Regions from separate parts of the Homo sapiens genome. Here region 2 is linked to region 1. The links are contacts of gene promoters, found by promoter capture Hi-C in blood cells and fetal thymus (Javierre and others, 2016). All regions are on one chromosome and are shown on one strand. Each heading gives the region's core, a stretch centred on a gene start or on the middle of the fragment in contact. The rest is flanking DNA. Distances are from core to core; before and after follow the strand shown.

The links. Contacts are between HindIII fragments. The CHiCAGO score rates a contact against its expected background, and 5 or more counts as called.
Region 2: the fragment with the promoter of FRAT2 here is called in contact with the fragment with the promoter of ZFYVE27 in region 1 in 3 of 17 cell types (neutrophils, activated CD4 T cells and non-activated CD4 T cells); the score reaches 8.8 in neutrophils.

Annotation. Positions count from the first base shown.
Region 1 is chr10:97,733,491-97,738,397 of GRCh38, forward strand. ZFYVE27 (zinc finger FYVE-type containing 27) reads left to right here and starts at 3,638. Exons shown (of 13, transcript NM_001385875.1): 1 at 3,638-3,831. RefSeq lists an enhancer at 3,354-3,503 and a silencer at 3,834-3,903. The HindIII fragment of the contact is 3,622 bases long and covers 2,968-4,907 here.
Region 2 is chr10:97,332,075-97,336,981 of GRCh38, forward strand. It overlaps FRAT2 (FRAT regulator of Wnt signaling pathway 2), which reads right to left and starts at 2,655. Exons shown (of 1, transcript NM_012083.3): 1 at 423-2,655. The coding sequence starts at 2,498. The coding sequence ends at 1,797. It overlaps LOC105378448 (a long non-coding RNA gene), which reads left to right and starts at 2,772. Exons shown (of 2, transcript NR_188201.1): 1 at 2,772-2,897. RefSeq lists enhancers at 1,366-2,273, 4,811-4,907 and silencers at 1,824-1,873, 1,884-2,013, 2,354-2,503, 2,594-2,743, 2,874-3,223. The HindIII fragment of the contact is 20,442 bases long and covers 1-4,907 here.

The DNA.
Region 1 (4,907 bases), core at 2,388-4,887:
CAGCCTGGGCAACATAGCAACACCTCATTCTACAAAAAAAAAAAAAAAAAAAAAATTGGCCAGGCACGGTAGCTCACACCTGTAATCCCAGCACTTTGGGAGGCTGAGGCAGGCAGATCACGAGCTCAAGAGATCGAGACCATCCTGGCCAACATGGTGAAACCCCGTCTCTACTAAAAATACAAAAATTAGCTGGGCGTGGTGGTGTGCACCTGTAGTCCCAGCTACTCGGGAGGCTGAGGCAGGAGAATCGCTTGAATCCGGGAGGCGGAGCTTGCAGTGAGCCAAGATCGTGCCACTGCACTCCAGCCTGATGACAGAGTGAGACTCCGTTTCAAAAAAAAATAAAAATAAAAATTAAGTAGCTAGGTGTTAGTGGTGTGCACCTGTAGTCCCAGCTCCTCTGGAGGCTGAGGCAGGAGGATTGTTTGAGCCCAGGAATTAGAGTGAGCTATGATTGCACCATTGCACTGCAGCCTGGGCAGCAGCAGAAGACCCTATCTCAAAAATAAAATAAAATTACATTAAAAAAGGAAAGAAAGATAAGAAAAAGAAAAAAGAAATGGGCATTGTTCTGGGGCTTTTGTTGAAAGAGATGTGAATTCTGTGCTCCAAGAGGAAACTGACACGCATGCGCTCATTCAAGGAACATTTGTTGGTACCTCCTTTGTGCTAGATGCTGGACACAGAAATTATAGGCAGTTCCCTCAGGACTCTCACTGTCTAGAGAGAGGAGGAGGCACCAAGTGCTGGGGTGGGGCAGGCCCACGGAGCCAAGTCAGAAGGGCACGTAATCCAGACAGTGGCTGCTGATGGGGAAGGTGTCAGAGAAGTCTTTCTTCAGGGGTGAGATCTGAGCTGAATTTTGGAGGAAGAATAAGAGCTGGCCAACTAAAGAATATGGGGCGCAGTGGCTCACGTCTGTAATCCCAGCGCTTTGGGAGGTCGAGGCAGGTGGATCACCTGAGGTAAGGAGTTTGAGACCAGTCTAGCCAACATGGTGAAACCCCATCTCTACTAAATACAAAAAATTAGCCAGGCATGGTGGTGCATGCCTGTAATTCCAGCTACTTAGGAGGCTGAGGCGGAAGAATCGCTTGAACCTGGGAGGCAAAAGTTGCAGTGAGCCAAGATTTCTCCATTGCACTCCAGCCTGCGCAACAAGAGCAAAACTCTATCTCAAAAAAAAAAAAAAAAAAAAGGTGAGAGTAGTCTGTAGAAAGGTACAGTAATGGGAGAAGGTGTGACATATCCGAGAACTGCCAGAGTTGAATACACCAGGCTTTGGTTTTATCCTGGAGGTCACAGGGGGCCACTGAAACTATCCACCAAGAGAGTGGTCTGAGAAAGGTACAGAGGGGTGGACAGGGTGGGGGATGGGAGTGGGTGGGGAGTGGCGATGGCCTATCCTGGAATTCAGACCTGAGGCCAGGTTAGGAAACGAAGAAGAGGGGCCTTCAGAGGCTATCTGCATGACAGACCCAGGAGCTTTCGGGGAAAAGACCCATCCTAAGGGAGGAGAGGCAGAGTCCAGCAGATGGGCCTGGACCACCACAAAGCTCAGTCCATTTCTCTAAGGGGTGGTGAGTGGATTTCTGTATATGGCTTAGTGATATGTGTGGGAATTGGATCTTTCTACATTTTGGCCTTTCGTGGATTCTTGTCTGATTTTTGGGCTAGGGGTGGTGGTGGTAGGGCTTTGAGTAAAAATAAAAATCACAATGATTGCTAACGATTTTTGAACACTTATAACATGTCAGGAATTTACATACTTTAGCTCATTTAATTCTCATCACAGCCCCACACTGAGGGTACCACTATGGTTATCCCCATTTTACAGCTGGAAAAACCAACCAAGCAATTCATCTGAGGAGAAGCCCTCCTACCTTACTTATGTTGGGACTGGCGCATGCCGGGTAATTGACAAAGTCAACTAAAGCAGGGAGCTTTGAGAAAAATACCTACACAGGGTAAGCATTTACTTTTGGGACAATCGTCAATTTATACATAGTTATAAGAACTAACACAGGGTGATCCCACAGACTACCCCCCAATGGTAACATCTTGCAACCCTTCTTAACAGAATGCCTACTATGTGCCAGGTACTGCTTTAGGTGCTGGAGACATAGACACGGGAAACGAAACATTAGCTGACAGAAGCCACAAGAGTGAATGAGATCCTCACGGAGTGCCTTGAGTCAGAAGAAAGAAGGGTAGCAAAAGGAGCCCCAGCATTTGAGGGGTAGGAAGAAAAGCCCTAAGGAGACCTTGAAGGTCGGAAAGAGAGGAGAGGGTGGTGTCATGGAAGCTAAGGTGGACAATGGTGCCAAAAAGGAAAGAGATTCCAGTGCTTCTGAGGTCATCTGCAAGGAGGACTGGGAAGTGTCCATTGGATTTAGCAGCCAGGATGTCACAGGTGAGCAGGCAGGTAGCCCAGAAATATGGAGGGGAGCAGGACCACAGTGCAGTGAGGAGTGAATTGGGCGAGGAAGCAGCGGTAGAGAGCACTTCACAGTGAGTCTTCCAACTCATGTAGGAAAGAGGGGGTAAAGTTAGGCTAAAGGAGAAATTTTCCATGAATTTTGTCTCTAGAATGATGATTAAGAGTTAGCGAGAGTCAAGATTTCAGGCCTGTTAGAGCAAAGCCCTAAGGAAATAAGAGTTGGACCCTGGAGCACAGCTAAGTCCTGGCTGGAGGGATGGGCCTGTCTTTCTGAAAGGAGATAATGGAGGAAGAGATGCAGTTAAAGCTCTGTGGCTACTTGAAGAGGGAAGTGATTACTTCCAGCTGGGGCACTCAAGGAAGGGATACAGACATTTGAGTGCCAGGGGCATTTGAGGGTAACAGTGGAGGGGTTCAGTTGGCCAAAGTTAAAGGCAGCTGAAAGATGGCAGGAGACAAGACCAGGAAATGCAGACCAAGGTGGGTGGTGGTATGGTTGGGGCGTTGGGGTCAGATGACACATAAGCTTCAAATTCCAGCTCCCATTTGCTTCTTAGCTGTGACTCTAAAGAAGTTCCTTAACACGTCTGAGATTCCCCATCTGTAAAATGGCGACAACCCTAATAGGGTCGTTGGAGGAGAACTAGATAATGTCTAAAAAGAGCTCAGTCCGGTTCAGTGCTTGGCTCCTCTGTACCTGAGCGCTAAGTCACTAATATAAAGCCATCGGATGTGTGCTTTAAGGGAAATTAACTGGGCCACACGGTGTGAAGTGAACTGAGCTGGGAGAGGCCTGCACAGGACCTTGTACACACTAGCTACTCCGGAAACAACTGCATGCTCTGCTGGGCATCTCATACAGGATACGGTGTCTTTCCGGGGCTCACACACAGTCCCCAGTTCAGTTCCAAAGTTGGAAGGAAAGAGGATGAAGACGTAAATTCTTCATTTAAGCCTCTCGCCAACTGTTCCCTGCGGCAAGGCAGGGCAACGAGCTGCAGGGTCGCCAAGCACGTGCTTCCAAGGGTCCTCAAGGCTTTGTGAACGGCGGCCGGCCAAGGACAGAATTAACTCCAGCCTGGAGCGCGCGGGAAAGACGCGCAGGCGCACTGCTGGCAAGGGTGCTTGCCTGTGCTGGGGTGGGCGGAGCTAAACCCGGAGCGGGATGACGTCATGAGGACGCAGCCGCAGAGCGATTCGCGTCCCGGAAGCGGCGGTGGCGGCCGCGGCGTAGGCGGAGGAGATTTTCGGACCTGCGACTTCCGAACAACCCTGGCAGGAGGAGCGGCGTTCAGCCGGGGGAGGCCTGAAGAAACGCTCCGGGGCCCAGTGGCTCTACCCCTGCTCCTGCCCGACCCTGCCGCCTCCCTCACGGAGCCAGCGGCCGGGTAGGTGAGGTGCCGTCCCCCCGCGTCCCAGTGTCTCCGCAGGCTGTGTGTAGTTGGGTGCTTGGGCGCAGCGGGGGCCGCCACATGCTGGCCCCACGACCTCGGGCATGGCCTTCCCTGTCCAGCCTCACGGGCTCCATCAGGCCCCCCTGGCTGCAGAGGTGTTGGCCAAGGCCAGTGCGGGCGTCGATATACCTCGCCCCTTCCTGGGCTCATACCTGGCGCCGCTCTGTGCCCTTTCGCCTTGGCTCGGCCTGCGGGGATTTCGGGGTCCCGTTGGCCCCTTTGTCCCATCCCCTCACCCTCCCATCAGGTCGCGGCTGATTGCCTGGGACTGGTTTATGTTGCTCTTCGCCGAGGTTCCGCCCCCTCGTTTGCTGCTTAGAGTTCAGGATAGGACTTTGAACTGGGAAAGACCGTAAAGGCTCCTCGGTTTCCTCATCAGAAAGGGCAGACGGGAATGGGGCGTTCTGATGCCGACTGCCCTGGGGCAGAGATGGCCCAGGAAGTTGTTGGGAACCGAAGGGAGTGGGAAGAGTTAGAGGATCGGGCGAGAGTCCTGGAGCACGGTATTTCATTCACTCATTCAGCAGGCATTTGTTAAGCACCCACTGTGTACAGAAGCAGTCGTGAATGGAGGCCAGTTAAGAGCAGGGAGTTTTACTTTGACGTGGTCAGTGCTCTGCACTTGATCTTAGCCACAAGGCCAAGAAGCGATGTGATGTGATAAGTGCTCTGTTAGGGTGAGTACGTGATCCTTTGGGAGCATCGGAGAGGGTCTCCCAGTCCAGAGTTGGGGGTGTTGGCAGAGACTTCCCAGAGTAAGGGAGTGATGTTTAAGCTGATACCTGAAGGATGAGTAGGAATTAACCAGGTAAAGAGTGGGAGAAAAATGTTCCAGGACATCATTTCATTTCAGCCCATGGGCTGCCTCGCTGCAGCGATCATTTATGCTTGGTTTTTATGATTTTTAGTTTTGATGGATCTTTGGGGAAAAGAGCATTGGATGGAGAGTACAAAGAACAGGATTTTAGGTCTGAATAGTTCACTTTCCCTTGCTCACAGGTTTACTGTTG
Region 2 (4,907 bases), core at 1,405-3,904, 400 kb before region 1:
TCTCCCAAGGCCATAGCTCAAGACTAGGTCAGTCTCAAAGGGGAAAGCAGGCTGGCTTCGCCTGTGCCCTCCCCATTTTGCACAAAAACGTCCAGATGAAAACCCACCTCCCTCCACCACAGCACCTCTTTGCTCTCCAGCCCAGAAAGCATTTCTAGAATACATTGTCTTTCCACAAAGGGAGTGGAAGCCCATCTTGCAGCTTCTAAAAACCTGGACTCAATTTTCTGATCTTGTGGAATAAAAACTTAGAAGCACTCAAGTCCTGTGGCTCTACTAGGATTCTGTGCCCATCAGCATTGGCCCAAACCATTTGTCCAGGTCCCCCCCCCCCGGTTTAGCCCAAGTGCCCTCTTTATTAAGGACATCCCCATATGCTTTTCTGCCCCTCTCCCACCTTCCACCAAAATGCCAAACCGTGCTCCAAAACAAAAGCCAAATTTATTCAGCAGACATTTTAATTATGAAATCCTATAAATCAGGACCACCACAATTTCAGACACTCCGTTGCGAAGTGTACATCAATAGCTACATCTGGAGGATGAACAAGCCATTGAATCTTTTAAAAATTGGTTTAGCTACCTTAAAGTTTGGGGGTGGCACCTTACAAAAGCGCCGTCAAGTTTCATACAGCCAGCGGCTTCTTCTCTGGGAGAGTCACATTTTAAAACCGGTTTCAGACACAAAAGAAGGGCTGGCACGGGAGGAGGAAATAAATTGTGAGGGTGAGGAGCCGCCGAGGCCGAGGCCCATGACTCCATGGAGGGCCAGAAGAGAGCAGAAAAACGTCCAGGGTCTCTCATGCATTCCTATAGACACCAGAAAGGGTGGAATAAGAAAGCTCAGCTGGGAGGACAAGAAAGAGACTCAAGAGATCGTTTATGACTGTTTCTGAGAAAGCTCCTGGCATGGCCATGAGTGGCCTTCCGGGAGTCCTGTAAAAAGGAAAGCACAGAAAACAGGAAAGAACTCTCCCTACACGTCCCTCTCTGCCTGTTTGTGTCCTCGGGAGACTCCAAGCGGTGGTAAAGCACCAACAGGGCTCTTCTTGGAGCAAGAGAAAGAAAAGACTCCGGGGTGAGTAAGCTCTCCCAGGAACCCCACAGCAAACCGTGACCTTGAACACAGATGGCAAGGTCAAGTCATTTACAAGTCCACATTCAAATCCAAATCTCCCACCTGCAAAATTCTTCACCTCTCTCCAGTCCCTTAATTGGAGTTCACATCTCCCACCTTCACCAGCCACCGAATCGGTGGGAAAAAGGGGCAATGCCAAGCCACCCACCACCAAACTTTTACATTCTTCTCCCCTCTGGAATTTCTTTGCACAGCAATTGTAGCACCACTTACTAAGCTCCTCCACCAGAAAATAAGAAAATGTATGCGTGTCGTTAGTTTTCAAGTATTGTTATAAAGCCATCGCGATTCCTACCCCTGAGCCCTCCTTAAACAATCCAAGCTCACGACGCCCCCAAGGGCTAAGTGAGGTACAAGTCGATGCAAGTAGCTGCCATAGTTCTCCCAGTTTATCCCAGGTCCTTGGGCTTGGATGGCCCGGGAAATTCTCATGCCCCACGGAAGCACCCTGGCGCATACATTTCTCCACGCTTAAGTTTTCTCCGACGGCCTCGCCGCGGCTGGTAACTTCTCTGGTTGAGATCTCTCCCCACGCGCCTCCCCGCAGCCAAAGTGGTCGCTCCCAGGCTGGCGACGTCGGCTTCAGCTCAGAGTTAGTAGGAACTGGACGCTGTTGGGTCTACGCAGCGGCCTCCACTTCCTCCTCCAGGAGGCCTGCGTCAGAGCAAGGAGCCTGAGGGCTGCAGGGCAATGCGGTCAGGTCCGCTGCGGCCTCCCCCGGGCCCAGGGGCGCTTGCGGGGCCCGTGGCTGCAACCGCGGCGACGGCTCGTTGGAGTCTCCGCACGGCTTCCTTGATGAGGTTTCCCGAGAGCACGAGCTGCTGGAGGAGCCGATGCGGGTCGTCGTCGCCGGCGCGTGCCCCGGCTTGGGTCCATCGGCGCTGCTGCAAGCGGCGGGAGGTGACCGCGTCCCTGAGCCATCCTCGCCGGCACGGCCCCGGCAGCGCGCTGGGGCCTGCGGCGACCTCCGCCACGCAGTAGGGCGCAGCGCGTCCGCGCACGCGGCCGCGGTCCCCTAGGGCGCAGCGCAGGGCCCCAGAGGGCGCCGGGCCCACCGTCTCAGCCGAAGCGGGCGGCAGCAGCAGCGGCACCGCCGGGGGCCGGGCCTTGTCCGCCGGCACCGCCGCAGCCAGGGGCCCCGGGGCCCGCAGCGGCACCCCCGGGGGCGCGCACGGCGAGGCCGGGCTGTCCTGCGCCGCGTCCAGCTGCAGCGTCTCGCCGATCTGGGCCACCAGCCGGTCCACCTCGCCCGAGCTGCCCAGCGTCACCGACTGCTGCAGCAGGAGGAAGCTGTCGTCCTCCTCTTCCTCCCCCTCCGCCTCCTCGCCGGCTTCCTCTTCCTCCTCCCTCCGGCACGGCATGGCCCCCCGTCCTGGCACCCGGAGCTGTGCGGGCTTCGCTGGGGGCTTGGTTGCCCGCGGGCGCGGAGCTGCGGGCGAAGCCGGAGCAGGGGCGGACGCGGAAGCCGGAGCCCGCCAGGCACTCGAGCCACGCGCCTGCAGCCGCTGGAGCCGGAATCCTGCCGGCTCGGGTTGATTTGTAAACAATGGGTGACGTCGCGCCGGGCCCTACCACCGCACCGGGGCGGGGGTGACGCGCGAGCAGGCACGGGGGCAAAGGGCGGCGCGGGCGGTGACCGAAGCCGTCCCGCGCCTGTGTTCGTTGTCCCTCCAGGAGGGGGTCCGGGGCGTGGGGACTGATTTCCGACCTCCCGGGCCCAACGAGCCGTGCTGAAACGTGGCGCCTCGGAGGAGGCTGAGGTTGGTTTCTCCCACGCACGGACACACCCACACCCACTCCGGGCCCGCCTCCTGGGCCGCGGCCTCCCTCCCCACGTGTCGGCCGCGCCTAAGCCCGCCCGACTCCCGCCCCGCGCACCCGCAGTTCCCGGCCCTGGTCGTGGGGGAGGGGCGGGCCGCCGCGGGTCCGGCTTCGACGAGGCGGGGCGGGGAAAGGCGGAGGGAATTGGGAGTGAAGAGGCGGCACGTTACTTATTTACTTATTTATTATTTAGAAAAGGTCTCTGTCGCCCAGGCTGAAGTATAGTGGCGCGAACACGGCTGACTGCAGCCTCGAACTCTGGCTTAAGTAATCATCCCACTTTAAGCCTCCGGAGCAGCTGGGACCACAGGCGCGGCCACCACGCCTGGCTAATTAAAAAAATTTTTTTTGTAGAGACGGTGGTGGGGGGGGGGGGTCTCACTATATTGCCCAGGCTGGTCTCGAACTCTTGGGCTCAAGGAGTCCTCGCTCCTCGGCCTCCGAAAGTGTTGGGGTTACTGGCGTCAGCCGCCGCGCCCGGCCTAAGAGGGGACGCTTTGAAGCAGAGCAGAATCGCTCTGAGGTGAGGTCCCAGAGGCTTTCCCTCCCGCAGTCTTCAAGCCCCCGGACATATCATGAGAATAGGACTCACCGCCGCTCGGCTAAAGAAGGGTCTTTTTTTTTTTTTAAGGTTCAAATAGAAATATAGGGGATTGGCCAGGAGCGGTGGGTGGCTCATGCCTGTGATCCCAACACTTTGGGAGGCCGAGGCGGGCGGATCACCTGAGGTCAGGAGTTCCAGACCAGTCTGGCCAACATGGTGAAACCCCATCTCTGCTAAAAATACAAAAATTAGCCGGGCGTGGTGGCGGGCGCCTGTAATCCCAGCTACTCGGGAGACTGAGGCAGGAGAATGGTTTGAACCCTGGAGGCGGAGGTTGCAGTGAGCCGAGATCACGCCACTGCACTCCAGCCTGGGCAACAAAGCGAGACTCCGTCTCAAAAAAAAAAAGAAAAATATAAGGGATGGAAAAAATCTCTCATGGTTCACATTTAAATTTTTTTCCTTTTTAGCCTTTGTTCTATGAAAGTGTAGTATACAAACACATGCATACAGTGTTACACACTTTTCCACTTTGCCTTACATCATAAACGTTTTTCGTGTTATTGCATGCACTTTGAAAACATTTTAATGATTACATAAGTTTCCATCAAGTGCCTATGTTTTTAACATTTGCCTAATTTCACCATCGTTAAGTGTGTAACTAACATTTTTGTGCGCGACACTTTAAGATATTGATGATTCTTTCCTTAGGGCATATTCCCAGGAGTGGAATTTTAAGTCACAGTAGTTGGGTATTTTAAGGTTTACTGATAAATGTTCAGGAAGTGTCTTTCCAAGAGTTAGGTAAATGTACTCTACCATCATTAATGCTTGAGCATACATCATTACACCTTCACTAGTATTTGAGTATTATTGAATTTTTTTTTTTTTGCGGATTATATAGGGAAATTTTCTCCCTTCAGTTTGCATATCTTTGATTTCAGTTAGGTAGAGCAGTTTTCTAAATGTTTGTTAACAAACTGTACTTCCTTTCTTATGAATTGTCTATTTCCTAATAAGATTTTCCTAGGGAGTGTTTCTTACGTATTTGCATGACTCCTTTACATACCAAATGTTAACCCTTTTCATATTTTGCCGCAAATACGTCTCCAGGCTTTTGTTGGCTCTGTACAGTCATTTTTTCCCCCACTAAAACCAAATTTTCATGTAGGCAAATTTTAAAATCTCTTTGAAATTTCTAACACGATGCTAAATTTGGAGTCTCCTTGCTGCCAGAAAGTTATTAAATATTCCATTCTATTTTCTTTAGATTTTTCAAATGCCTTGATTTTTTTTTCAAATCCATCTGGGATTAATGTTGGTCTTTGTTTCAAGGAGATGACATGAAATTAATTTTTTCCTGGAGAGCTTGCCAGCCAAAGGTGTGTTTCTTCACTAGGACAGA